6 separate regions of the Homo sapiens genome follow, and all the other regions are linked to region 6. Evidence: promoter capture Hi-C in 16 types of primary human blood cells and fetal thymus (Javierre and others, 2016). All regions are on one chromosome and are shown on one strand. The core of a region is centred on a gene start or on the middle of the fragment in contact, and the rest is flanking DNA. Distances in the headings are between cores, read along the strand shown.

Region 1 (4,634 bases), core at 1,962-4,461, 130 kb after region 6:
CAGAGAAAAAATGGCAGATGACCTACTTAGGCTAAGAGGACAACTTCCGGGGTGATTTAAAGCCTTGTCATTTGGCCAACTGTTTAGCCACAGGCCTCAAACTGTCCATGAATAACTTGTGATGTGTTTTGGTTGCTTGGTGCTGGACATTTCAGTTGTTGATCAACAACTACTTTTGTGAACCCATGACTGAGTCCTAACACCGGATTTCCTGTTAACTTCAACCTGGGTCTTTGGAGAGATGTAAGTCCCTCCAAAAACAAAAGAGTAAGGGCATATATTATTCACATCCTGCCATAGGTAATTCAGCTTTGTATACAAACCTGGAAATGGGTTAGAATTTAACAACTTTTTCACAAAGGACTACAGGGTAACAGAATCTCATCAGTTGTTTATCCTCATTCCTTAGGATATGACAAACGAGTTTTGCTTGCTAAGTCTGTGAGCACGACACTATCTCAAAAACAGGATTTCTGTTAAAAACTTGACATTATTTTAAGAAAATAACTACAAACTGAGACATAAGCCATATATCTAAGGAATGGAATGGAAAAATATAAATTCTATGATAAAGGAGCAGGGAGAAAGGGACCCACCATTTGCCTTCCCATTTTGGTCCCTTTCCAGGAGAGCGAGCACATCTTGCGACAACGGCTCTCCACATCATCTAATTCAAGAATGCCTGCCAGATGGCCAGCACGTGATAGACAACTTCCCCAGGTTCTTCAGTAAGCTGAAGCCTTCTCTCTGTGGGGAATTCATTTTAAAATTCAAACTTTACTTTTCATGAAATGAATGAATTGTAGTAAGACACTAAATGCTAAGTGGTATTTATAAGTCTGAAGAAGCTAAGTTGTGCAGCCTCGAACAGGAGGAGGACCAGATGCCAAGTTCAGGGTTACCTTCCTTCGGAGGACCCCCCACCCGGCCCCCACCCAGTGAATGTTCAGGACTTGGCAAGAAATGCTAGAGGGGCAGTGCAGTTTAAACAATACATTTGGAAAAAGTTGAGTTCGGTCCCAGTTCTGCAGTCAAATACACAGTGAGATGGAGCTTTGAAGAGCTCCCTTGCAGGATCAATCATGGGCCTGCGTGTTTGATCACACAAAGTACTTGGGCCTGAGGGAGACTACTGCTACTCAGGGTCCCACGAAACCACACTGAGGGTCTGGGAGGGAGAAATGCAGTGGCCATAGCTCCTCCTGGAGTGCAGGAGGAAGGGTGGAGTGGGGCAGGAACCAGGGTGCTTATGGTGATTCTGGGGTTCCTGAGAGCACTTGGAAAAAACAATTTGGAAGCTGAATTATGCGAAGTCTGAGAATCTGTATGTGAAGCATCCAGAATACCAACACAGCAATTTCAAAGAAACTCCAACAATGTGAAAACACTTGGAAGATGGTTTAATGATGTTTTACAACAGAAATGAACTGTACAGTTACAGTAAGTTTAATATATATATAAAAAATTACAGCAGACAAATGCATCTACACAAAATCTACCACTTCATTCTGATTCACTGTCACCTACACAATCTTTCCCAAGCCTACAGCCCCTGCAGGCAGCCCTAGGAGGGGGAATCATCTAAAGGGCACTTTTGAGAGAGACAGCACCGCTCATATTCCCCGCCACCTCCTCAGGCTTCAGGAGGCATCAGCTAATTCCCCAAAATGTAAAGTTGCCTGTGTTTCAGGTTTTCAAAACCAAGAAAACGTGTGTCTCCCAGGGGCACAGATAACAAGGTCCAGCACGCAAGTTATCAGCTGATTCTTAGAAAATATTCCTATCAGAGGGGAAATATTTGGCTAACAGGCACTCTGGGGCAGTAAGGCTACACAATAGCCACCCAGAGTGCAGAGTTATCTAAGAGAAATGTAGAAGGACTCCCAATAAACCACCTCAGAATTGTCACTGCCTCATTCAAGCTGCTGGACAATTTTGGAAAGAATCATTTACACCACATCTTAAGTTTCCACAAAGAAGAACTCAAACTCACATTTTAAAGTACATAAAACAAAAAGTTCTAGGAGGCCGGGGGCCAATTCCCCTTGTGCCCCTCCTTTGACAACAGTGGACAAACACCCCTGAATTAATAATTAAGACAAAAAAGGAAGAAAAAAAAAGTGAGTTAAGATATTGAAAGAGAGAAAGAAAACATCTTTAGAAAAACACGATCACTGTCTCTTTAAAAGAAAACAAAATCCCAGTTGGGAACAGTAATGAGGAATATGCAATCTAAATTGACACCTGGTGGGAGATTATTATTGAATATTATGTACACTCAGAACTTTTTTCATTTTCTTTTTTATTATGAACACCTAGGCAGTGAAAACTGTTATGTTAATACATACATAGACACACCCAAAACATACAAAAATACTATTATTTCAAACTACTAAGAATAGGACAGTTCAATTATTTTCATGCTATGACTTTAAGAGCATTACACTGAAACAAACAAGAAGTTAAACGACATTTTTTTTTTAATATCCCAGAAATATACCAAAATATACATCTAAGCTTTGGAATTACTGAGGTTAGACTAATGCAAGTGCTGGGTAATCGTACTTAATACACGAGTCTAAGGTTCTGCAGGAAAGAAATTATCTTTGGTATCTGCATCAGGCTAATATTATTAACATTTGGATTTTGCTTTGGGATAGAGCTTGTGTGACCCAAGAACCAAGTACCCCCCTCCCCCAACCAACTGAGATTAAAAAGATCCATGTAAAAAGTTCCTTCATTTGCAATCCCCCCACCCCCCAAGTTAAAAAGTCACAGGCATCTACCTAGCACAAAAGGTTGTGAAGTACAATGCATAGTTGCACAGTGGTGCTGCAAAAAGGAAAGAAAACTACAATAAAGAGAAATGAAAAGCTTGATAATCTTTCTGCATGTTTTCTCACAAACAGGACAGCCACTTCCAAGCAGTTCCAGTACAGGAAAAGAAAAAAAGGCTCAGAAGGGCACCGTGGCGTGCATTCGCCCAGCCCCAGAGGTTAAAGCACCCAGCAGAGCAGCCAATCGTGCGCCAGTGTCTTCAACGTCCCCCACTCTGTGGAGTCCTCGGGCCAGTCCAGCAGCAGCTCCCACCCTCCCTAGGCCCTGTGCTAAGTCCCCATAGTGACCCTGGTTGGTGTAGGGTGGATGATGGTGGTGATGGGGTTTTTTGACTTTTGTTTTGGAAAATCTGAAATGCCAATTTGTTTCAGGGCATGCTCACAAGTTTGTGAGGGCCAAAGCTAGGGGCATGCACCTGTGCTGGACCCTGGAAGGTGGTAAGCAGCTTGCCTGCCCTTTCTGATCCAGTCAGAGGGTCCCCCCGCCCCACCTTCCCTGGCCTCACTCTTCTAAGTGCCAGGACACCACAGACTGGACTGATGCTGAAGACTTCCCTTTTCTTTGGTTCTTTTGTTTGTTTTGAGTTTATACAATCATTAAGAAATCTTTGGTTTTGGCTGGAAATTTGAAAAACAAAACAAAACAAAACAAAACAAAGAAACCACCCTCCCCTGGCTTATAGCAGCAGTATCATGACCTGGCTAAGCTTTTTGTCAGCATTAGGGGTGGGAATTGAAGGTTGGGAACTACATTCAAAGAAAAGGTGAAAGGGCTGGGGATGCAGCTTCTAGAGAGCCCATTGGATATAAGATTGTCAAATAATAATAATAATAATAATAAACTTAAATATTTGGATATTTTTGGTCATGTCAAAGGAAAAAAAGTGAAATGTGTATGCAGCAGTCAGCTTAAAGGAGCCTTTGGTGTCTTCCCTTCTACCCAAAGTCCTGAAAAGAAACAGAACCCTGAGGCCTCAGAGGAGAAGGGGTTGGCCTCTACCCCACCAAGGAAAAGGCAAGTACAGAAGTTGACGTGTGGCCAGCTGTCAGAAACACAGGGTGGGTTAGGGGTGTGGATAGCTGGCCAGCCCCTAAAGGCAGGGTGGCAGGGAAAGCAGATGTTAAGAGACCTGTGAAGACCCCTTGCAACAAAAAGGAATAGAAGATTGCAATTTGCCCTCAGTTTGCAGTAGCTTTTAAGCAGCGACATTCAGAGGCTTTAGGGGGTCCCACCCTAGGCTACAGGTCCCATGATGCTATAGGCCAGAGTTTAACATGACTGAGGAGGGAGGGCAGACTTGGCAACTCTGTAGGATTTCGAGAAAGTTAAAGCAAGTCACTCGGTCACGAGTTAGAAATGAGGTATACAACAGCTCCTGGACTTCTGGTGGGTAGAACAGCCCACGCTTACTCACCTAGCCTTCACTACTACCACAGATGAGGGGATGGAAGTACAGACTTATGCGGGAGGAGAGCGTTTCCTGCGGAGTGAGACCTCCTGCGGACTGAGCAATGCACACGTGCCCATGCACGCAGAGGTAAGAAGCTGGAAGTCTTTCTTTCCCCGACCTGACCTTAGGGAAGATACAACATTTATGTTGTCAAAAGCCAATGTTATAATATGATTGCAAAATCTTAGGCTTCCTGCACCAACCTGTTCCATGTTCTCCAACTGTTTGCAGTTTTAAACCTATTCAGGCTGGCACTAGTCCACTCTACTCTTACAAAGTGTGTGCCTTCTGCAGACTCACGCAGGAATGGAACCAAGGACATGGCATCCCCGACTGCCTACAACTA
Region 2 (4,784 bases), core at 1,653-4,152, 170 kb before region 6:
AGCTCAGGCAATCCACCCGCCTCAGCCTCTCAAAGTGCTGGGATTACAGGCATGAGTCACCATGCCCGGCCGATAACAGCATCTTTTAAAATGCACGTAATAAACTCCCCAGATCCTAAAGTAGAATATCAGGGTCCCAGTATGAAAAAATGTTCATTGCAAGTTCATCAAGGTCTGTTCAGTTGGTTGCAGCATGCTCCTAACAAAACTTAAGTCATAGATTTCATTCTATGGGGCAATCTTATCTGCAATACACAGGATAGGCAAAGACATACTGCATTTCTAACTCCAATCAATTAAACCTAAGTACTGGATTCAGTGTATCACTGTTGCTACAAAATTACTCAAGCTCTATGTTCTAACAATAAGATCAGAGGTATCATAAGGTATCACAGTTTCTAGAGACTCTGAGTTTAGAAGAAGAAACCTACTGAAGGAGGATTTATCAATGAAATCATCTTGGATAAAGGCCTAATGGGATCAAGAAAAAATTGTTAAGTGAATAAAAAATTACAGTAGCCACATGCATTGAAAAAGACAATGAATAGGTTGGGCACGGTGGCTCATGCCTATAATCCTAGCATTTTGGGAGGCCGAGGCGGGTGGATCACCTGAGGTCAGGAGTTCGAGACCAGCCTGGCCAATATGGTGAAACCCCATCTCTACTAAAAATACAAAAAAAAAAAAAAAAAGAAAGAAAGAAAGAAAAAAAAGAAAAAAAATTTGGGCAGGGCACGGTGGCTCACGCCTGTAATCCCAGCACTTTGGGTGGATCACCTGAGGTCAGGAGTTGGAGACCAGCCTGCCCGACATGGCAAAATTCCATCACTACTAAAAATACAAAAAAATTAGCCAGGCGTGGTGGCAGGCACCTGTAATCCCAGCTACTCGGCAGGCTGAGGCAGAAGAATCGCTTGAACGTGGGAGGAAGAGGCTGCAATGAGCCGAGATGGCGCGACTGCACTCCAGCCTGGGCAACAGGAGTGAAACTCTGCCTCAGAAAAAAAAAAAAAAAAAAAATTAGTTGGGCGTGGTGGCTTATGCCTGTAATCCCAGTTACTTGGGAGGCTGAGGCAGGAGAATCACTGAACCTGGGAGACAGAGGTTGCTGTGAGCCGAGGTTGCACCACTGCATTCCAGCCTGGGCGACAAAACGAGACTCTGTCTCAAAAAAAAAAAAAAGGAAAAGAAAGAAAAAAGATAATGAATAAACAAAGGGGTTTAAAGGCAAAGATATAAAGATCCCAGGAGACAACCACAATTTCTCAATTTATGCACTATGGTGAACGGAGCCAACTGACCTCTGCTTTCTTACGGCAGCAAAAATTCCAAAGACTTTTGTCTGGACTCTAGGGCACTGCTAATGTCAAACGACTTAGCAAAGTAAGAGTGGAAAAGGAAAAAAGGAATATCATTCAAGATACATGAAGGCTTAATATCACCAGCCTTAGGGGTCAAGTCTCAGAGCCATATGACACTTGAGACCTCAGGAGATGCTTCTAGTTCTTCTAATAATTATACCGTCTTCGATGGGGCTAAAGACTAATCTATAATAAATTATATGCCAAAGCTTACCATTTTACTCTCCCTTTTAAAATGACATCTGTGGTCTTAGAGAGCAAGATTAAAAATCTTTCCAAGGTTGAGGTACACATGAGATGTATGTCTTACACAAATAATTCAAATTCTCAGATAAAAGATATAACTCAAAAACAGTCAGGCTCCAGTTAGAAGGCTCTAATCATCCAGTAGAGACATGACTGTGGCTGTACTATATTAGCTCCAGTGTGGATGCAAAGTGGATGGTGAGAAATATTTAGTAGGTAGACCAGCATCTACTGGATAGAGGGGAAACAGCAATATTTCTGAAAAGCTATGTTTTTCCCAATTAAATCATGTTTTTAAAACTCAGTGGGAAAGACCAATCTTTAAAGAAACCCTATAACATATCCCTTATAAGTTTTAAAAATATTTTATAATACAAATAAGATGTTCCATTTTTCAAAAATTTGCTGCAAATTTTCATATTAGATCAATCATATTTTCTTAAAAGTTGTGATTGTTGGGAATTTAATCTGTCCTTTGGTATTATTTATTTGAGTAGATGTTTCCTGTCTGTCACTTCTCACTAGCATCTAGGCTCCCTGCTGCATCCCATACATAAACAGTGCCTTGTGCCCAGTAGGTGTTCATTTACGTTGAATAAGTAAATAAATTAGACTTAATGAAAACACAAACTTGCATTTTATGTTCTTTTGCACATAGCTGTCTTTCACTTAACATTTATCTTTTTCTTTTGGCAGCATCTAAGCCTAGTGGATATCCTGGAGTTGGAGTAAAAAATATACATATTTTATAAGACTAAGTTTCTATTTTACTATCCTGACTAGTAAATAAGTAAAAGGCCAAGGGAACTGATAATGAGAAATAAGCAGTGCATGAAATCACACTTTGGAAAAATATTCTTCTTGCATAAACACATATTGAGGACCTACTATACCATGCTAAATCATAACTACATATTGCAAACTCCTAACAAACTGTTGTCAAGACATGCCTATGCCTCACTGCCATTTAACAAATATTTTTAGCATCTACCATATCCACTGTGTTAAGCACTAGGAATACTTCTATAAACAAGACAGATGATTTGTCTGTCCCAGATTCTGATGGAGGAAAAAAAAGAGAAGAAAAACCATATAGAAATTACAATAAGGAAGTAAACGGCAAACCAGCAAATAGTAACAGGTAAGTACCCTAGAATAAGGTGGTCAGAGAGGCCTCTCTAAAGATGTGAAACTTAGAGCCTCTGTGATGGAAAGGAGCCAGCCCTGGGCAACATCAGAACAGCTAGTTCAAAGGCTAGGAGGTGGGAATGAGTGTCACAGAGCAGAAAGATGGCAGTGTGGCTTGAATATAGTGAGAAAGGGGTGGTGGGTGGTACAAGTTGAGGTCATAGAGGTAAGCAGAAACCAGATCACAAAGAGCTTTTCAGGCCATGGGAAGTTTAGATTTCATTCCAAGTGCAATGGGAAGCCATTAAGGATTTTAAAAAAGAAGGCAACATGATCTGATTTGCATTTTAACAAAATCATTCTTGCAGTTTTGTGAAGAATGGATTAAAACGAACCAAGATGAGTACTGGGCGTGGTGGCTCATGCCTGTAATCCCAGCACTTTGGGAGGCTGAGGCAGGCCGGTCACTTGAGGTCAGGAGTTCCAGACCTGGCAAACATGGTGAAACCCTGTCTCTACTAAAAATAAAAAAATCAGCCAGATGTGGTGGCTCACGCCTGTAATCCCAGCACTTTGGGAGGCCAAGGCGGGTGGATCACCAGGTCAGGAGTTCGAGACCAGCCTGGCCAACATAGTGAAACCCAGTTTCTACTAAAAAATACAAAAATTAGCTGGGCATGGTGGCATGCGCCTGTAGTCCCAGCTACTCGGGAGGCTAAGGCAGGAGAATCGCTTGAACCAGGGAGGTGGAGGTTGTGGTGAGCCGAGATCACGCTACTGCACTCCAGCCTGGGCAACAGTGCGAGACTCCATCCCCCAAAAAATAAATAAATAAAATAAATTTAAAAATAAATAGAAAAATCAAAAATTAGCCAGGCATGGTGGTGCATGCCTGTAGTCCCAGCTACTTGGGATGCTGAGGCACAAGAAGAATCACTTGAATCTGGGAGATGGAGGTTGCAGTAAGCCGAGATTGTGCCACTGCATTCCAGCCTGGGCGAGACAGAGCAAGACTCCAGAGGGGGAAAAAGAGGAAGAGCAGCTGGGAGGCTATCACAGTAATATAGGCAAGAAATGGTGGTGACTTTGACTAAAAGGCTAGGAGTGGAGGTAGAAAAAACATCAATTCCAGATGCATTTTAAAGATGGGAGAACTGATTGGATGTGAAGGACAGGGAAGAATCAGGGATGGACCCTAGGTTTCTGGCCTGCACAATTAGATGTATGGAGGTTCCATTTACTGACATGGATGGTACAAATTACTGAGATTTAGTCCTCATATACTATGTGCTCATTTCAATTACCAAATTCAGTGAATTCTTATCACATTTTATCTCTCTTCATCTGACAATGCTGAAATACCAAACTCACCTGGTTTTTCTCTTACTCACAGAGACTCTTTGTCAGGTTTCATATACCCCAAAACTCCGTCTTTGGCTCTCTGCTATGTTCTTCAGTGCATTTTCCCTGGATGCCCTCATCCAAACAATCCAAGCTTTAACTATTAGCCACATAACTCTCTAAATCTCCATTTCCAACCAGAACTTTCTCCTCACCTCCAGAACTGTCTATCCAATTGTTTTCTGCCCATCTCCATTTGGATGTCTTACCCGCATCTCAAACTCAACATATTCAAAAGTATCTCCATCATCTTCTTCCCCCAAGACTCCTATTTCCCCATCTGTGAAAAGGCCAAAAATATGCCCAGCTTCCCAAGCCCAAAACCTATGATCATTTTATCCACCTCCTCTTTCAAGCCTGCATCAATGTTTCCAAGCTCTATCAAACGTACTTTCTAAGTGGCGCATCAACATGTGTCCTCTCTTCATAGCCCAATGCTTGAATTCAGATCTTCATCATCCTCCCCGGGATTATTACAATAGTCCTCTGCCTTCTCTGGCTTCAGCCTCACCCCACTCTAACCCATCCTTCACATCTCAATAGACAGAGAAATCCTCATTGGATTAAGTGTGGCAGACAAGGCCCTTTGTAAGCTGGTGCCCTTGGCAGGCTCTCCTGCCTCAACTCCCACCATTCCCCTTATATACA
Region 3 (4,493 bases), core at 656-3,155, 160 kb after region 6:
TCAAAGAGTAAGTCAGTGGTAGTGCTTAAAACAAACAAAAATGCTACATATCCAGACAACTGTTTAAACCATTAAATATATTCACCCTTCTTTAAAAGTCCTCGGTTAGCTGACAAATTCCAGGAAATTAATTTGGATTTTGGTTAATTTGGGGTTTTCATCTTCTATAGATTCTTGCTCGATTAACTGGTTTTAGCATAGGCTTAGAGAGTATGCGTGCCTGTGCTTGCATGCCTGTCTCCATCACCCTCTCTCTTCCAAAAAGTTATTTTTATTTTTAATTTTTATTAATTTTTACTTTTTAGAGACAGTGTCTTGCTCTGTCACCCAGGCTGGAGTGCAATGGAGCAATCATGGCTCACTGCAGCCTCGACCTCCCGGGCTCAAGCAATCCTCCCACCTCAGCCTCCTGATAGCTTGGACTACAGGCATGCGTCACCACACCCAGTTAAATTTTTTATTTATTTACTTTTTGGAGAGACAGGGTCCCACCAGAGATCAGGCTGGTCTCCATCTCCTGGGCTCAAGCAATCCTCCCACCTCAGTCTCCCAAAGTGCTGGGATTACAGATTAGAGCTACTGCCCCCACTACAAAAAACTGTTTTTAAATAAGCCTTCTAAACTTTTCCCCTTTTAGCTAATATAATACACCCCGTAATCTTTACTCTCTCAATCTTACATATGAAGTACTGAGGTCTACCACCAGATATTCTTCAAATAACAAAATCCTCCATACAATCTTTTAAAGTCTTCACAATTTAGTGATATAATTATGATTTCAGAGGCCTGTGTTCTGAAAGAAATCATAAAGCTTCTAGACTAACATTAAACCATACATTAAAAATGCAGGAAAAGGCTAACAAAAAGGTGCAGTTTAAAACCAAAAAACAACATGGCTGAGGAACATATTGTATCTTAGAAGCCTCTTTGGACATGTAAAGCAAATACAGTTGTCCCTCAGTATGCACAGGGGATTGGTTTCGGGACCTCCCTTGGATACCAAAATCCACTGATGCTCAAGTCCTCCAAATTATAAAATGTATATTTGTATATAACATACGTGTATCCTCCCATATACTCTAAATCATCTCTACGTTACTTATAATACTTAATATAATGTAAATGCTATGTAAATTGTTGTATTGTTTAGGAAATAATGGCAAGAAAAAAGTCTATACATGTTCAGTACAGACATGACCATCCTTTTTCGTCCCCCGTCCCAAATATTTTGGACTAGTTGAATCCACAGATGTGGAATCCATGAATACAGAGAGCCAACTGTATTTGGACCCAGCCAAGGAGGGGAATCAATGTAAGGCCAATTCACCCTACCTGAGTGAATCCAAGTTTGATTCGTCTTTGTTTGAAGGTCTTGGCAAACTGCTCAAGCTCCTCAAGGTCACTGGGCTCCTCCAAGCTGGGAGTATCAATTCGCTTTGGTGTTGACTGGCTCTGTGGAAGTGTCTGAATTGGGGTTGCTGCTATTGTGCGTGTTGGGGTTGCTGGCTGTTGGAGAAAGAATAAAACAATGAGGAAAAACACGTGAAGAGATATTTAGGTTTACTCCAAGTAAACAACTGAAGGAAAGAGCCACATTTATGGATAACGATGAAGACCATGTAACACTACAGAATGTACAACATAATGTTCAGTGAGCAAAGCAGACAGTGAAATTATGTATACTGTAATTACAAGTAATTATGTAATTCTATAGAAAAAACATGAATACACAAAAATGAAATGAATACACAAAAATGAAACCTATTATAACTGGGTTTTCAAATGGTCTGAATACATATATCTTATGTCTTTTAATAAATTACTCTTTATTTCAAAAAATCTATTTCATAAGTCTAGCACTTCAACTGTCAAAACAGTAGACAGCATATCTGTCTTGTTTACCACTATTACATCTCCAACCTGTGACACAGTATTATAAAAACAGTATTCAAGATCATAATTCAAAATCATTAAGGGGGAAAAGTAAACCACCTGCAGTTTAAATAGCTTATAACAGGTTTCGCTTTTGTATATCTGTTCCAGTTTTTTCCCCAAGGACCTATATCTTTAAACCTTCACTGTAATTATGGTATACAAAATTTTACTCTCTGCTTTTCTTATTTAACGTTGTTTTAACAGAGCAAGACACTGTCTCTAAAAAATAAAAATTAATAAAAATTAAAAATAAAAATAACTTTTTGGAAGAGAGAGGGTGATGGAGACAGGCATGCAAGCACAGGCACACATACTCTCTAAGCCTATGCTAACACCAGTTAATCGAGCAAGAATCTATAGAAGATGAAAACCCCAAATTAACCAAAATCCAAATTAATTTTCTGGAATTTGTCAGCTAACCGAGGACTTTTAAAGAAGAGTGAATATATTTAATGGTTTAAATAGTTGTCTGGATATATAGCATTTTTATTTGTTTTAAGCACTACCACTGACTTACTCTTTGATAGCTTGGACTACTGAAATCAGGAGTATTTCAGTTTTCATAGTTATCCTTTTTAAAAACTAAGGCAATATTCTCATAATTTACTTAACCAGTTCTTAATTGCTAGACAGTTTTTATGTTTTCACTAACATAGATAACACAATGAAAAACTTTATGCATATTAGTTATTTTTTCCACCTATGTGTGTAATTAGTTCTTTTGAGATAAATTCTCAAGGGCTTTTCTGGTAACTAGATAAACAATTTCATGGTTTTTGATACATATCATAACGTTGGTTCCCACTATGCAACACTCTTCCACATGACTTACGTTAGCAGTTTTAAAAAATGTTTTGCTAATTCAAGAAGTAAATGGTAGTTCCCTGCTGCTTTAATTTGTATTTCTCTTACTACTCAATGTCAAAATTTTCCCATGTGTCAATTATTATCTGTATTTCTTTGAATGTGAATTGGATTTACGTCCTTAACCAATTTATATATTAATGATATTTATTCTCATCCTTATCCTTAGAGAGATCCTCAAATTTTATAAAGGAAGCTTTGTCATATTAATGCAAATGCTTTTCCAATTTGCTTTCTTCCTTTTATTTTTCAGGGTACATAAACCTTTAAATTGTCATTTGGGTGAGCTTTTAATTTTCCTTTCTAATATATCCTGTTACTTCAAATCTGAGAAAGCTTCACTTATTTCTAACATTGATAAAATTCCTTTTAATCTGCTAGCTTCTTCTTTGTTGAATATTTGATTATTTAAATCCATGTATAGTTTATTTTGGGACATGAGGGTATAGTCTCTTTTTAAAAATAAAATACTCTACTTTCTTATCACACAAACTTAAGGTTATTCTGTTCTATTCACAAGCCCTGAGTGGAACACACCTCACTAGTGGGAGGCACTGCCTGACTGCATCTTAGTTGCTCAGTTGACTCCTCCTGTGAAGAGTAGCCCAGGTGAGCGATTATAAACCAGAATTACAGATAAAGTCTGTGGCTGTGAATTTTTCTTCTTCAAATTTAGATGAGTTATATAAGCCTGACCTTTACCTTATGAGTCAAGGCTTCCTCCAAAGGAACTAACTGTCCCAGAAAACTACAGAATAAGCATTACACAGGCGACAACTGGAGTTAAGTTCCTCTCTTATCCTGTTTCAATGACAATAACAAAGTTCATTTCTATGTCATGCTGACACTGCGTAATTTTCAACCTGACCATTTTGGAGGAGCCAAAACGAGCACCAACCATAGCAGACCCCTATGTAGCTGTACATTTCTCACAGCGAAACTGGTTGACAGTTACAGGTGAGTCTTAACTATCACATTGTTACTTCATCTCCGGGCCTGAAGTAGCCCCATTCTCAAATAATAAAGGACTAAAAATCGCTTGGGTACCTTTAGATGGGGTGGTTACAGATAAGTTACCCCAGCTCCAGAAACCTCAGGCTGGACTGGGCCAGATCTAGAAATGGCAGAGTAGAATTCAGTGAGCAGGAGTCAGGATGAAGCCACAACGGCCCTGCCACCATATGCAGAGAACGGAGGCCAGGAAGAAGTCTCTGGTATAGGCTTTTTTCAAAATCCCAACCTCACTCTTGCATTCAGCATATTCACAAATTCACCATTTAAAAGGGCAAAGTATATGTTTCAGCAACTACAGTCATACAACTGCTACTAATTGCAGTAGCAGTTACTACAGATAGTAGTAGATACAGAACATTCTCATCACTCCCAAAAGTTCCCTTGTTCCCTTTGCAGTTAATCCCCACCATTAGCCCCCCGTCCCTGGCAACCACTAATATGTTTTATGTACCTTAGTTTTGTCTTTTCTAAAATGCCATGTGCATTGAATCATACTGTATGCAGTCTTTTATGTCTTCTTTCATGTAGTATAATGCTTTTGAGATTCACAGGAGATGCATGTATCAGAAGCACGTTTCTTTTTACTGCAAAGTAGCATTCCATCATATGGATATGCTAAAGCTTATGTTACCTAGTCACCAGCTGATGTATATTTAGGTTGTTTCCAGTTTGAGGTGAAT
Region 4 (4,726 bases), core at 691-3,190, 230 kb after region 6:
ACACTAGTAATTCGGAATCAGGATTTAAAACTAGAATTTTCTGATATCAGAATCTGTGCTCTTGGCTATTCCTATGCATTATGGATGAGTTAAACACGTAGGGAATTGCTGAGAGGTGGTAAAGCAGCAGACTGAATGGTTTGTTTTCCGTGTAGTGAAGAAACCAGTAAACGGCAGCAAAGACATTGTGTTTAAAAGTCAGGTGTGTACAGATACACAGAAGAGTGCACTAGATTTGAGGAGAGTTCTGAAAGGTGTCAGCCCATTAATAACTGTTTTTATTTAGAACTAGTCTTCAGGAAATGAAAGACAGATTTTAACAAGGGGCCTTTAAAAAGATTCCCTTGCAAGTCAGTAGAGGACCAAAAACCTTAAACTTTTGGATCAGCACTCTGCATTACCAGTTTTTCTGTTTTACTGAATCACAAAATGCTTATGAGGAGAGACTTTGGGGGAGAAACTTAACACAGCCATTTAATACCTGTAATACCTGTTTAAGTTCCTTCCTTCTTCGAGCCTTAATTTTATCACCTATAAAATGATGATATCCCTTTCATGAGGTTATTGTGAGATAAATGCTTTCATGCTTCTCAGACAAGAGCGTGGACTGGAGGAATGTGATGCAGTTGTGCCAGGGCAGACATCAAGTCACTGGATAAACATGTCCATCTTTTGAAAGCATCAATCTTATTTAATATTTCACACCACTTTGTATTAAAATAAGAATACATTATAGAAGAGAACACAAATTTCAAATGAGTTTTTAAGGTAGAATATGTTGGATTATACAAATTCTCCTTGGTGAGAAAAGATGAAAAGCAATGATGAATGTGACTAGATTACAGTAGATATCAATAAATGTTTATTTCCCTCCTCTTCCGCCTTTACGAAATTTAAAATTTATTATTTGCATTTATTATGGGATATTTCTGCAACTTACCATCTGCCCTTTTCTACTTTATGTAATAACATCTCTAAACTACCTTTCTACTGTGAGTGTGGTCTTTCATATATTAGCTAAGGATGACTTGCAGCCAGACAATCATTGCTAACAAAGGAGTGTGTCTGTACCCAACAGGAGCAGCACCTTCCTAGTGAAAGAGCCTCCTCCTCAGGCTAAGGGAGTCCCACAAGACCTGTAGCAGGGAGGCTATAGTTTACCAGCCCACACAGGCTACTATCTAGAGTGGGACCCCCCGCTTCCCCTCTACTGCAAAGCTCACCCAGAAAAAAAAGCTCACATTGCTACAGTGGGAAGGAAAGGCAAGAAAAGTCCCTTTCTACCACCCTTGACCTAGGTACCCTACTAATTTTAGAGGGGAAGTTTAAATACCAGGAGTTTGTCCAAGCCTCTACAGATGGATTGGGAGAGGGACTGTCACCGTCTCTTGCCTGTACTCCCCAACCATGGCACATTTATGTCCAAAAGAAGAAAATGACAGCTTTTCCCACAAAGTTCAAATGTCCATTTCACTTGGTCATCTGTCTGAAATAATAGCAAAGAATCAATTAGACTAAAACTTAACCTAGAAAGAACACCCGTTGTACAAAGGAAAATCATTTTTGAGAGGTTTGTGGGATTGTCAGTCATTCACACTTGAGCATGAATTAATCCAATCCCACTGCTTTCATTTAACACCTAGTTGAGGAGTTGATTGTAAGGCAATGGTTGTTTCTACTAGAGAAGAGGCCAATAAATGATAAAATAACTGATGTTTAGAGGACCTGGATTGGGGGTGGGGTAATGTGGGCAAAGGGTTCATAGAAGGTAGTAATAATAGGAAATAGTAGTAACATATGGAAGTATAAAAAGGAGCTGAAAGGGCAAATTCAAACTCATGTATTTCACAATTACGCCTAAAATGTAGCCTTTTTTTATTTTCTAAAAGAGGGGACAAACGCTCTTCCAGGACCCAGAATTCACGGTTAACACTACTAGTTTTTTTTTTTTTTTTGAGATGGAGTTTGCTCTTTTGCCCATGCTGGAGTGCAGTGGCACAATCTCAGCTTGCTACAACCTCTGCCTTCTAGTTTCAAGCGATTCTCCTGCCTCAGCCTCCCAAGTAGCTGGGATTACAGGCGCCTGCCACCAAGTCAGGCTAATTTTTGTATTTTTAGTAGAGACGGGTTTCACCATGTTGGCCAGGCTGGTCTCGAACTCCTGACCTCGTGATTCGCCCACCTTGGCCTCCCAAAGTGCTGGGATTACAGGCATGAGCCACCATGCCCAGCCGACACTACTAGTATTAAAATATTTTTATATTCATGATCTTATGGGCCAGTGTAGGTATCATTAGAAATGAAATTGAGGGCAATGACAACTAAATCACAAACTAGTGTTTTAAAACACACCTTTTATGTGAGAGTGAACTGAGATCGGCCTATATTCTACCTTACTAAATCATTAACATCCAGCCTGGTCATGTTCTATATGAATAGCCATTTGTACCCTCTATTCTGTACTGACCATATAACTAGTTGAACAAGCAGAAATGTCTGACTCAACAATTATTGCCTGTTACCTCCTTTCTATATCATGGGGGGTGTCTGCATCTTTTAGCACCACTGGTTTCACCCCAGCCAATCTCAACAGTACACCAATATCCTTTCCAACCTTCATCTCTTTTCCAATCTACCAATAATTTAGTGTCCTATTAACTTACTTACAGAAAACACTTAATGATATTTCAATTCTCTGTAATAAAAATACTTAGTACCTCAAGCATTATCAATAATTATTTACAAAAAAAGTCCAACAAACCCATCACACACATACAAACTAAAATAATTTTACTAATGCCCACCAAATATGAAACAACATTCCAGGACTTGAAAATTTGAGACTCAGAATCAAGTGATAGGTATTGGCACTGCCACCATTCTTGTCAACTACATCACAGACTATGTAAATGATACCCTCTAAGGTTGCATTATGGGGCTCTCAGTGTCCCCTCCCCCCACCAAAAATCTTTTAGAATAACTTAACGGAATGTCTATCATTTACTAAAAATCTAGATGGGCAGATACCATGAAAGACATGTACTTTATCAACGTGGCTATTAAGCACTGCCAAATAACAAGCAATCTGAAGGATAATCTTACTTCATAAAAAGTAAACTGAGGCCTAGTTAATGACCCTTAGGGTCACATAGCTACTAAACAGAGAGCCGAGGTATGGTGGGGGTTGGGGACTCAGGCACAATATGGAGGGCATGAGAGGAAGACAAGTAAAATAAAATATGTAAAAATTCTTATCCCATGAGACTGAGATCAGTAGTTGGTTGGCTGAACAAAATGGTCAACCTAAGTATCATAAACACAAGTACATAATGATTGTATTTTAACCCAAAGCATATAAATACACATTCATTCACCAATTTTTTTGGGCCAAAGCCTTTTGAGTTTGGATAAAAAACTCAAAAGATTTTTACGTTTTTCACTGAAAGTCACATTTTACATTGTACATATATGTATAGACTAAATACTAAAAACTCAAGAAAAGTTCCATAGAACAATGCTTCTTTCCAGGTATAAATGTATTGCGATGTGTTCTAGACTTCAACCTATTAAATTGACTTCATGTCTCATAGATTAAAAAACACTGCTTTAAAAGTGGGGCAAGAATTATATGACACATGAGGCAATCTGAGTCCATAATGCTTTTCTATTTTTTTAGAATAATTTATCCCTACTATTTTATAGCTCTCTTGCACACATCTAATTCAGTATTTTTTAGTAATTACCCTTTATCAAATCTTTCCAAAGCATTTAACTTAATTTTCACAGAAACATCATCTTTCTTTTTCTATTCTTTTCCTTGGTTTATATAGTTATTTAAATTGTGTAATTAGGCTGGGTGCGGTGACTAATGCCTGTAATCCCAACACTTTGGGAGTCCTAGGTAGGTGGATCACCTGAGCTCTGGAGTTCGAGATTAGCCTGGCCAACATGGTGAAACCCTATCTCTACTAAAAATGCAAAAATTAGCTAGGCGTGATGGCATGCGCCTATAGTCCCAACTACTCAGTAGGCTGAGGCATGAGAATTGCTTGAACCCAGGAGGCGGAGGTTGCATTGAGCCGAGATCGCGTGACTGCACTCCTGCCTGGGTGACAGAGAGAAACTCCATCTGTAAATAAATAAATAAATAAATAGTGTGATTAAAATTAGTACAACTAGCATGAACAGTATTGGGAGCACAAACAAGTAAATGGTTCTTAATAACTTTACAACTCAACTGGTAGACATACCATGGAATAAGTCTTCAGCATGCTATAGGGAATCAGATAGTGCATCAAACAGGAATGGGCTGTCAGTTAATCTCATCAAGTCATTTAAGTGGTGGCTCACTGAGAAAGCTACTCCACCAGAAAGCGGTTTGAAATGACATGTTTCTGGTCTCTTTTAACCTGTGCTATATTACATTTTTACAGCTATATACATAGCTCATCTACTGTTCACTCTAACAATCTGGCATTCTTTAAAACTAAATCTATTACAAAATCCAATCCTGAATTTCTTGGTTGTAAAAGCTTAAATCTTTGTGTAGCTCTATTAAAGTTTTACCATTTCACTAAACTTATCTGTCTAGCCTATCCTACATGATCCTATCTTACCATACTGTTTCTTTACTTCTATAACTGTCTTTCTTTCATTCTAGTTTAAAGTGTTTTGCCAAGTCACTGATTTCAATCATTAATGGATTCCACAAGTATTTACTAAGTGC
Region 5 (4,438 bases), core at 1,042-3,541, 150 kb after region 6:
TTTTTGACCAATTTCTCACCTTATCTAACCTGATTTTACCTATGGGTACTACTTCCCTTTCAAAGTTCTGAAATTGAATTGCCTATTTTTATAAGTCCTAATATCTTGAGCTCAAAAGGCTTAAAATAGTTATTTCTTTACTCTCCAGCCACCTTCAAATCATTCACCAACTGTTTTCTTAAATCCCTTAAGTTTACAAAGAAAATCCCAGTCAAATTTTATCAGTGAATTTAACCTAGGCCAGAAGATGATGACTCCAGAAGCATTCAAAATTGTTCTAGGCGTCTCCAATATAAATGTTATATAAATAAGCATTATGGTATAACAACTTAAAATTATCTTCAAATTAATTATCCCAGTCAGTGAGTCATGTTTTCATCAATATATGTATTTCATGACTGTAAATTCTTGGCAACTTGGCAATTTAATTACTTGGGTAACTTTGACTAGTGAACTTATTGTTGCTGAGCCTCAATGTCCTCAACAGCAAAATAAGATACCACCAACCACCTCACAGGGGCAGTAGGAAGCTATAGTCAAGGTGTGTATATAGTACCTGGCACTTCCCTGTGCTTCCCGCCCTGTCTTGTCTTTTCTCAAACAGCTTTTATTGAGATACAACTTATAAACTGGATATCCATATGCAGAAAGAGGAATTTAGATCTTTACCTTACACTGTGCATAAAAATTAACTAAAACAGATCAAAGGCCTAAATATAAGAGCTGAAACTATAAAGCTTCTAGTAAATAAAGTAGGACAAAATCTTTGTGACCCTGGGTTAAGCAAAGAGTTCACAGACACAGCACCAAGAGAATGATCCATAAAAGAAAAGAAAAATCAGTGAACTCAACTTCATCAAAAGTAAAATCTTTTGCGCTTCAAAAGCCACAGACTGAGAGAAAACATTTGCAGATCACATATCCAATAAAGGAACTGGAATTGTGTCAGAATGTATAAACAATTCTTACAACTCAATAGTAAGAATATAAACAACTTAGATTTTTAAATGGACAAATGTTAGTAGACATTTTAACAAGGAAGATATAGGAGTGACTAGTAAGCACATGAAAATTCATCCAGCTTTAAAATTTGATGACTTTTAATCAACTTACAGTTATACAACCATCATCACAATCCAGATTATGACATTTCCACTCCCAAAAAAGATCCCTTGTGCCTGTTTGTAATCATGTCACACTCCTACCTAGTTATCTGCTTTTTGTCTCTAGATTTTTGTGGACATTTCACACAAATGGAATCATACAATATGTAGTCTCTTGCATCTGGCTTCTTTTACTTAACATTCTGTTTTCAAGGTTCATCCACATTGTAGCACGAATCAACACCTCATTAATTTTTATGGCTGAATAATATTCCACTGTGTAGATATAACACATTTTGTTTATTCATTCACCAGTTGATGAGCACTGGTTTGTTTCCAGTTCTTGGATATTATAAATAAGGCTGCTATATAAACATTCACATTGAAGTTTTTGTGTAGAAATGTCTTCATTTCTCTTGGGGAAATTGCTGGGTAGGACGGTAAATTTATGTTTAAAAGAACTGCCAAGATGTTTTCCGAAGCTGTATCATTCTACATTCCTACAAGCAATGCATGAAAGTTCCAGTTTCTCCACATCCTTCCCAACATTTATCATCTTGGGTCTTTTTGATTATAGCCATTCTAGTGAGTACAAAGTAGTATCTCATTACAGTTTTAATCTGCACTTCCCTAATGAGTAATGCTAATGTCACATATCTCTCCATGTGCTTACTAGTCACTCCTATATCTTCCTTGGTAAAATGTCTACTAACATTTGTCCATTTAAAAATCTGAGTTGTTTATATTCTTACTATTGAGTTGTAAGAGTTGTTTATACATTCTAGACACAATTTCTTTATTGGATATGTGATCTGCAAATGTTTTCTCTCAGTCTGTGGCTTTTGAAGCACAAAAGATTTTACTTTTGATGAAGCTGAATTTACTAATTTTTTTTTCTTTTATGGATCGTTCTCTTGGTGCTGTGTATATGAACTCTGTGCTTAACCCAAGGTCACAAAGATTTTGTCCTACTTTATTTACTAGCAACTTTATAGTTTCAGCTCTTATATTTAGGCCTTTGATCCATTTCAGTTAATTTTTATGCACGGTGTAAGGTAAGGATCTAAATTCCTCTATTCCTCTTTCTGCATATGGATATCCAGTTGTCCTAGAACCATTTGTTGAAGACTGTCCTTTCCCTATTGAATTGCCTTGGCACCTCTGTCAAAAATCAATAAAGCATAAATTTAAAGTTTTGCTTCTGGACTCTTAATTTTGTTCCATTTAATCTATATATCTATATGTATACCAGTAATACACTGCTTTGATTATTGTTGCTTTACAGTAAACTTTGAAATTAGGACATGAAAATCCTCTGATTTCACTCTTTCTCAAAATTGTTTTGGCTATTCTTGGTCCCTTCCAAGAGTTTATCGATTTCTTTAAAACAAAACAAAGAAAAAACCTGTTGGAATTTTTACTATGATTTTGTTGAATCTATAAATCAAGCTGGAAGACTGAGCATGGTGGCTCATGCCTGTAATCCCAGCACTTTGGGAGGCCAAGGTGGGTGAATTGCTTGAGCCCAGGAGTTCGAGACCAGCCTGGGCAATATGGCAAAACCTCGTCTCTACAAAAAATACAAATATTAGCTGGGCGGGTGGCATGTGGCTATAGTCCCAGCTACCGGGGAGGCTGAAGTGGGAGGACTGCTTGAGCCTGGGAAGTTGAGGCTGCAGTGAAATGTGATTGCGCCACTGTGATAGGGCAATACCCTGTCTCGAAAACAAATAATAATAATAATAAAATATATAAAATAAATAAAATAAAAAAATATATATTTATGCTATAATGTGGATAAACCTTGAAATCAGAGAGAAAGAGAGATGCACATATATCTCAAGCTGGAGAAAAACTGTCATCTTAAGAATGCTTAGTCTTCCAAAACATGAACATGGAATATGAAATGTCTCTTTATTTAGACTTCTTTTAACTTCTTTCAGCAAATTGTAGTTTTCATTGTTCAAGTCTTACACTTCTTTTAAGTTTATTCCTAAGTATTTTATTCTTTTGATACTGTTACATACAAGTTATTTCCTAAATTTCATTTTTGAACTGTCCATTGATAGTACATACAAATGTAATTTATTTTTTATATATCAATCTTGTATTCTGCAACAATACTGAATTTATTGATTAGTCCTAGATACCTTTTTTTGGTGAATTCCTTAGTATTTTTATACATATAGAATAATGCAAATACAAGCAGTTTAACTTCTTCCTTTCCAAATTGTCTTCCGTTTTTTTTCTCCCCCTTACTGGAGGCTATAACCTCCAGGACGATGTTAATCAGAAGTCCACAAGAGCAAACAAACACTCTTACCTAATTCTCAATCTTAGTGGGGAAAGTATTCAGTCTTTTGCCATTAAGTATTCTATTTGCTGGAGAGTTTTAGTAAGTGCTCTTTATCAGGTGAGGCAGTTCCTTTGTATTTCAGCTTTCATCATGAATGGGTTTTGGATTTTTACAAATATCTTTTCTGTATCCACTGAGATGATTATGTGGTTTTTGTCCTTTCTTCTACTATTATAATGTGTTACATTAATTGATGTTCAGTTATTGTACTAACCATACATTCCTGGGAGATAAATCCTCCTTGGCCATGATGTATATAATCGTTCGATTTTTTCAGTATGTTGCTGGATTTGACTTGCTAAGATTCTTTTGAGAGTTTTGGTTTATATTTTCTCGAGGAATATGAGTTTGTAATTTTTTTTTCTTGTGCTATTTATCTAAGCTTAGGTATCTGGGTAATACCGGCCTGATAGGAAAATAGAGGAGAAATGTTATTTCTTCTTTGATGCATGTTTTAATTTTCAAATACATGGGGACTTCCCAAATTTCTTTCTATTGTTAATTTCTAGTTTATCTCAGTTGTCATCAGACAACACACTTTGTATGATTTTAATCCTTTTTAATTTACTGAAACTTGTTTTATGGCTAAAAGTATCCTGGGAGATGGATGTTCCATGTGTACATAAAAAGGATGTGTTTTCTGCTGTTGCTGGACCAAGTGTTCTGCAGATGGCAGTTAGAACAAGTTGGTTGATAGTGCTCAAATGTTGTATATCCTTCACGGCTTTTTTTTATTTTCCCCCAAACAGGGTCTCGCTCTGTTCTCAAGCTGGAGTTCAGTGGTACAATCTCAGCTTATTGCAGCCTCAACTTTCCAGGCTCAAGTGACCCTCCCACCTCAGCCTCCCGAGCAGCTAGGACTATAGGCACGTGCCACCACGCCTGGCTAATTTTGCTCATTTTTTTTTTTTTTTGTAGAGACAAGGTCTTACTATGTTGCCCAGGCAGGTTTTGAACTCCTGGACCCAAGCGATCCTTT
Region 6 (4,240 bases), core at 549-3,048:
GTGGGAATGTAAATTAGAATAACCGCTTTGGAAAAAAATTTGGAGTTCCTCAAAAAATTAAAAATAGAGGTACCATATGATCCAGCAATCCCACAGCTAGGTATATCCCTAAAAGAAAGAAAATCAGTATATTGAGAGATGTCTGCACTCCTGTGTTTACTGCAGCACTATTCACAACAGCTAAGATTTGGAAGCAACCTAAGTGTCCATCATCAGATGAATGGATAAAGAAAATGTGGTATATATACACAATGGAGTACTATTCAGCCATAAAAAATGAATGGGATCCTGTCTGTCTTTGCAACAACATAGTTGGAACTGGAGGTTATTACGTGAAGTGAAATAAGCCAGGCACAGAAAGACAAACTTCACACATCCTCACTTATTTGTGGGAGCCTAAATGGAAACAATTGAACTCATGGAGACAGAGAGTAGAGGGATGGTTACCAGAGGCCAGGAAGGGTAGTGGGGGGACTTGCAGGGGAGGAGTGGGGATGGTTAATGGGTACAAAAAATAGTTAGAATAAGACCTAGTATTTCATAGCACAACAGGGTGACTATAGCCAATAATAATTTAAGTGTACATTTAAAATAACTAAAAGTATAATTGGATTGTTTGTAACACAAAGGATAAATGCTTGAGGCAATGGATACCCCATTTACCCTGATATGACTATTATGCATTGTATGCCTGTAGCAAAATATCTCATGTACCCCATAAATGTATACACCTACTATGTACCCACAAAAATTAAAAATTTTAAAATAAGTAAATAAAAAGTTTTTTAAAGGTCTTGAACTTTCGGGCTTCTGCCTAACTTTACTACTAGTGTAAGTGGGCCCCTTGAGATTTCAGCACCCCAGCATTTGTTAGTGACTGAAATAATGAAAATTCTGATCAGGCCCTTGCTTGCACATGTTGACAACTCTCTTTTTGCCCAATATCCCTTGTTCCTACAACATAATCATAAACTGCTGATGTACTGTTTCTTTATCAAGCAGGAGGAGATAATAACTTCAGGGTTACGAAAAAGTTTGCAGGAGGAATAAGTCCTTTGAAGTACTTTGAGGCCAGCTTCTGTCGCCCAGAAGTCTGATTGTTCAAGGAATTATCTGAGACTGAAGAAACACAGACTTTTTCCCTCGATTCCCTGAAACTCCCCCTCCCTGACTCGCTGGCCGCATAAACACTCTCTGCTTCTTCTTTTTGTTAGGGCGGATTTGAGAGATCTTGCCCTCCCGCCTTCTCGCTTTGGCCAAATCGAATAAACTTTTATCTCCAAGCACCTATATGTCAGTGTTTGGCATCAGCTACACATGGGGTACACGAGCCTGAGTCTGGGCTTCTACAACGCTGGGACCCTCGCTGTTCTTTGGAGCTGATGGTAAATTCAACAGAAAAGAGGCGCATGGGTAGAAAATGCAGCATTTCCTCTCAGATGCCAGATATTCATCTCCAAAGGTATTAAAAGGAGGGGGTGTGTGCCTGTGTAAAGAGGCTGGTCTTTTCCTAGCAGTACGATTTGGGCAAGTTGCTTGATTTCTTCAAGCCTTTCTTTTTCCGCCTGTCAAACAAAACAAAACAAATATCCCGTTTAGGACAAATTCACAATCCTTAAAGAGGGCAGGCAGAGCGATTGGAATGCAGATGAACCAATCCCTTCTCCTGCAGGTTGCGGAGCTGCAGAGGGACCCCGCCCCCTGCATTGTGCTTAGCTCTGATTGGCGCCTCGCGGAGGGGGCGGGGCCTGGGCGCGCCGAGCTCCGGCTGGGTCCCTGCAGGTCTTGGGGCCCGGGACTCTTCCTGGAGACACCGCCATGGCCGGGCTATCCCGCGGGTCCGCGCGCGCACTGCTCGCCGCCCTGCTGGCGTCGACGCTGTTGGCGCTGCTCGTGTCGCCCGCGCGGGGTCGCGGCGGCCGGGACCACGGGGACTGGGACGAGGCCTCCCGGCTGCCGCCGCTACCACCCCGCGAGGACGCGGCGCGCGTGGCCCGCTTCGTGACGCACGTCTCCGACTGGGGCGCTCTGGCCACCATCTCCACGCTGGAGGCGGTGCGCGGCCGGCCCTTCGCCGACGTCCTCTCGCTCAGCGACGGGCCCCCGGGCGCGGGCAGCGGCGTGCCCTATTTCTACCTGAGCCCGCTGCAGCTCTCCGTGAGCAACCTGCAGGTGAGCTGGGGCCCGCGGCTTCCCCAGGCGGGCTGTGGGCGGGGCGGCCACAGAGCGAGCCTTCACTCTCCCCAGAATTCTTCCCGGGAAGTGGAGCGTGGCTCGAACGGCTGTTGCTTCTCTGCCGCGCAGGCAGGTAGGTGGGCGTTGCAGCGTCCCAGATGTTGGGCAGCTGGGTACCAGGAATTTCCCACAAGCCTCCGCCACTGGGCCACGCACCTGGGGTAAATTCTCTGCCAGCAGCCCGAGGACTTCTCATCCGTGAGTGGTTCTCAGTCGTCTTGGGGCCCAGTGTCTCTATTAACTGTGCTCCTATTCTCTTTTTTTTTTTTTTTCCCTTTGAGACAGAATCTCACTTTGTGGCCCAGGCTGGAGTGCAGTGGCGCTATCTCAGCTTACTGCAACCTCTGCCTCCCAGGTTCAAGCGATTCTCGTGCCTCAGCCTACCGAGTAGCTGGGATTACAGGTGCGTGCCACCACACCCGGCTAATTTTTGTATTTTTAGTAGAGGCGGGGTTTCACCATGTTGGCCAGGCTGGTCTCAAACTCCTGACCTCACGTGATCCACCCATCTCAGCCTCCCAAAGTGCTGGGATTACAGGCGTGAACCACCGCGCCCTGCCTGGGCTCCTATTCTTAAAGGTTTTACAGGGCATAGAGATTGTTAGGTACTTAAGCACTTTAATATGTGACTTCAGGGTTTCTCACTCTCTTACCCTTCCTGAATTAAGCTTTTCCCTCCTGCAGCAAGACGCTAACGTACAATATCATGGACGATTACAATGATTACTGCAGTCTTTAGGCCTCCACAGGCATAGTGGCTCCTCAGTAAGATGCAGAGCTGATTGAAGGTGTATCTCTTCCTCGCCCTTTGCCCACCTTCTGGTGCAGGGCCACACTTACAACTCTGATGGATCTCTGCTGTCTCAGGGATGGGGTCACAGACACCCAGCTTGGGAGGCCGGAGACACACAGAGTCCAGGAATGGAGCCTGATTTGATGGAGGGTCTTTTTGACAAAGCTCTCACATTTGAGTTCAACTCTGAAAGTACAACATTGTTGATAAAGACAGGATGCAAGAAACTGATGCTTGATTAATCACTTTTCCATTTGCCTTCCATTCGTTGTCTCTTCTATTAATTCTTTGAAGTAGGTATTATATACCCCATTCTGCAGATGAAGAACTTGAGGCCTACCTAGGTTAAGTAACTTGTTTAAAGCCAGCGGGCAAACCCCTAGTTTCATCTCAGGTTCATCTTTCTTCAAACCACCTATCACAGGCTGGTGGCCCATCAGCTGAATATGTCCCACAGACCGGTTTGGCCTACACAAAGTTCTGTTTTGTTTTTAATAAATTTGAATTTGTTACCAACATTTTAAAATTTAGATTTTACTTTAAAATGTAAATCTCTAACTTTTCTTGAAAAATGGGAAGATCCAGTGACACTGTGGGCCTGCACTCTTTGAGCAAAAACAGAAGCAGTGCCCTCTTTTAGCTAAGGCAGATACACCCCAGTTCACCATTTTCTTATTCCCAGCCCATTCCACACCTTTAGGCGTTTGCTCAAAACAAACTCACTCCACTCCATCAGTGGTGCTCAACTTTGACTGCAAATCATAGTCACCTAAGAAGGCTTTAAAAATGGGATGCCAAGGTATTTTATTGAAAGCACATTTTATTTTAAGACAACACCCCTTCCCGCCTCCCCACAAACCACTCCCTGATGATTCTAATGGGGGAGGAGGGAGATTGACCAATACATAATCATATTTAAATTTGTGAGGTGACTAGGGAGTTGCTGGTATTATTGTCCCCATTTAGGAAGTGAGGAAACACAGACTCAGAGGTGCAGGGACTTACCCTGTGACCAGTCAGCTAATGGCTGTCAGGTAGGACATTAGCCCAGGTCTTTCATGTTTCTAGAAATAGACAGGGCAGTGGCAAGGAACCTACCCAGGGCTTTAGGTTTCCATGATGGCAGTGAAAAGAAGTGGCCACATTAGAATTTGTCTGACTTGATTCCATCAATTAGCAGGTCAAAGTTTCTGCTTTTTTCTTTTCCTCCTC

The links. Contacts are between HindIII fragments. The CHiCAGO score rates a contact against its expected background, and 5 or more counts as called.
Region 1: a contact is called between a fragment that was not itself captured here and the fragment with the promoter of CREG1 in region 6, in 1 of 17 cell types (activated CD4 T cells). The highest score is 5.8, in activated CD4 T cells.
Region 2: a contact is called between a fragment that was not itself captured here and the fragment with the promoter of CREG1 in region 6, in 2 of 17 cell types (neutrophils and total B cells). The highest score is 10.1, in neutrophils.
Region 3: a fragment that was not itself captured here is called in contact with the fragment with the promoter of CREG1 in region 6 in 7 of 17 cell types (total CD8 T cells, naive B cells, naive CD8 T cells and 4 more); the score reaches 8.1 in total CD8 T cells.
Region 4: a contact is called between a fragment that was not itself captured here and the fragment with the promoter of CREG1 in region 6, in 1 of 17 cell types (naive B cells). The highest score is 5.2, in naive B cells.
Region 5: a fragment that was not itself captured here is called in contact with the fragment with the promoter of CREG1 in region 6 in 9 of 17 cell types (total CD8 T cells, naive B cells, total CD4 T cells and 6 more); the score reaches 6.4 in total CD8 T cells.

Annotation. Positions count from the first base shown.
Region 1 is chr1:167,424,086-167,428,719 of GRCh38, reverse strand. POU2F1 (POU class 2 homeobox 1) reads right to left here. Exons shown (of 16, transcript NM_002697.4): 16 at 1,380-4,634. Among named protein-coding and RNA genes, the nearest start is that of CD247, 92 kb to the left of the region's middle. RefSeq lists enhancers at 2,530-3,500, 3,501-4,471. The HindIII fragment of the contact is 670 bases long and covers 2,877-3,546 here.
Region 2 is chr1:167,724,271-167,729,054 of GRCh38, reverse strand. The region is part of intron 1 of MPZL1 (myelin protein zero like 1); the gene reads right to left. Among named protein-coding and RNA genes, the nearest start is that of MPZL1, 4.7 kb to the right of the region's middle. RefSeq lists an enhancer at 530-1,029. The HindIII fragment of the contact is 2,660 bases long and covers 1,573-4,232 here.
Region 3 is chr1:167,386,601-167,391,093 of GRCh38, reverse strand. It overlaps POU2F1 (POU class 2 homeobox 1), which reads right to left. Exons shown (of 16, transcript NM_002697.4): 9 at 1,333-1,506. Among named protein-coding and RNA genes, the nearest start is that of CD247, 130 kb to the left of the region's middle. The HindIII fragment of the contact is 2,184 bases long and covers 814-2,997 here.
Region 4 is chr1:167,323,117-167,327,842 of GRCh38, reverse strand. The region is part of intron 1 of POU2F1 (POU class 2 homeobox 1); the gene reads right to left. Among named protein-coding and RNA genes, the nearest start is that of POU2F1, 100 kb to the right of the region's middle. RefSeq lists an enhancer at 1-126. The HindIII fragment of the contact is 5,188 bases long and covers 1-4,534 here.
Region 5 is chr1:167,405,450-167,409,887 of GRCh38, reverse strand. The region is part of intron 13 of POU2F1 (POU class 2 homeobox 1); the gene reads right to left. Among named protein-coding and RNA genes, the nearest start is that of CD247, 110 kb to the left of the region's middle. The HindIII fragment of the contact is 3,104 bases long and covers 740-3,843 here.
Region 6 is chr1:167,551,320-167,555,559 of GRCh38, reverse strand. CREG1 (cellular repressor of E1A stimulated genes 1) reads left to right here and starts at 1,798. Exons shown (of 4, transcript NM_003851.3): 1 at 1,798-2,172. The coding sequence starts at 1,819. RefSeq lists a silencer at 1,660-2,109. The HindIII fragment of the contact is 3,087 bases long and covers 1-2,905 here.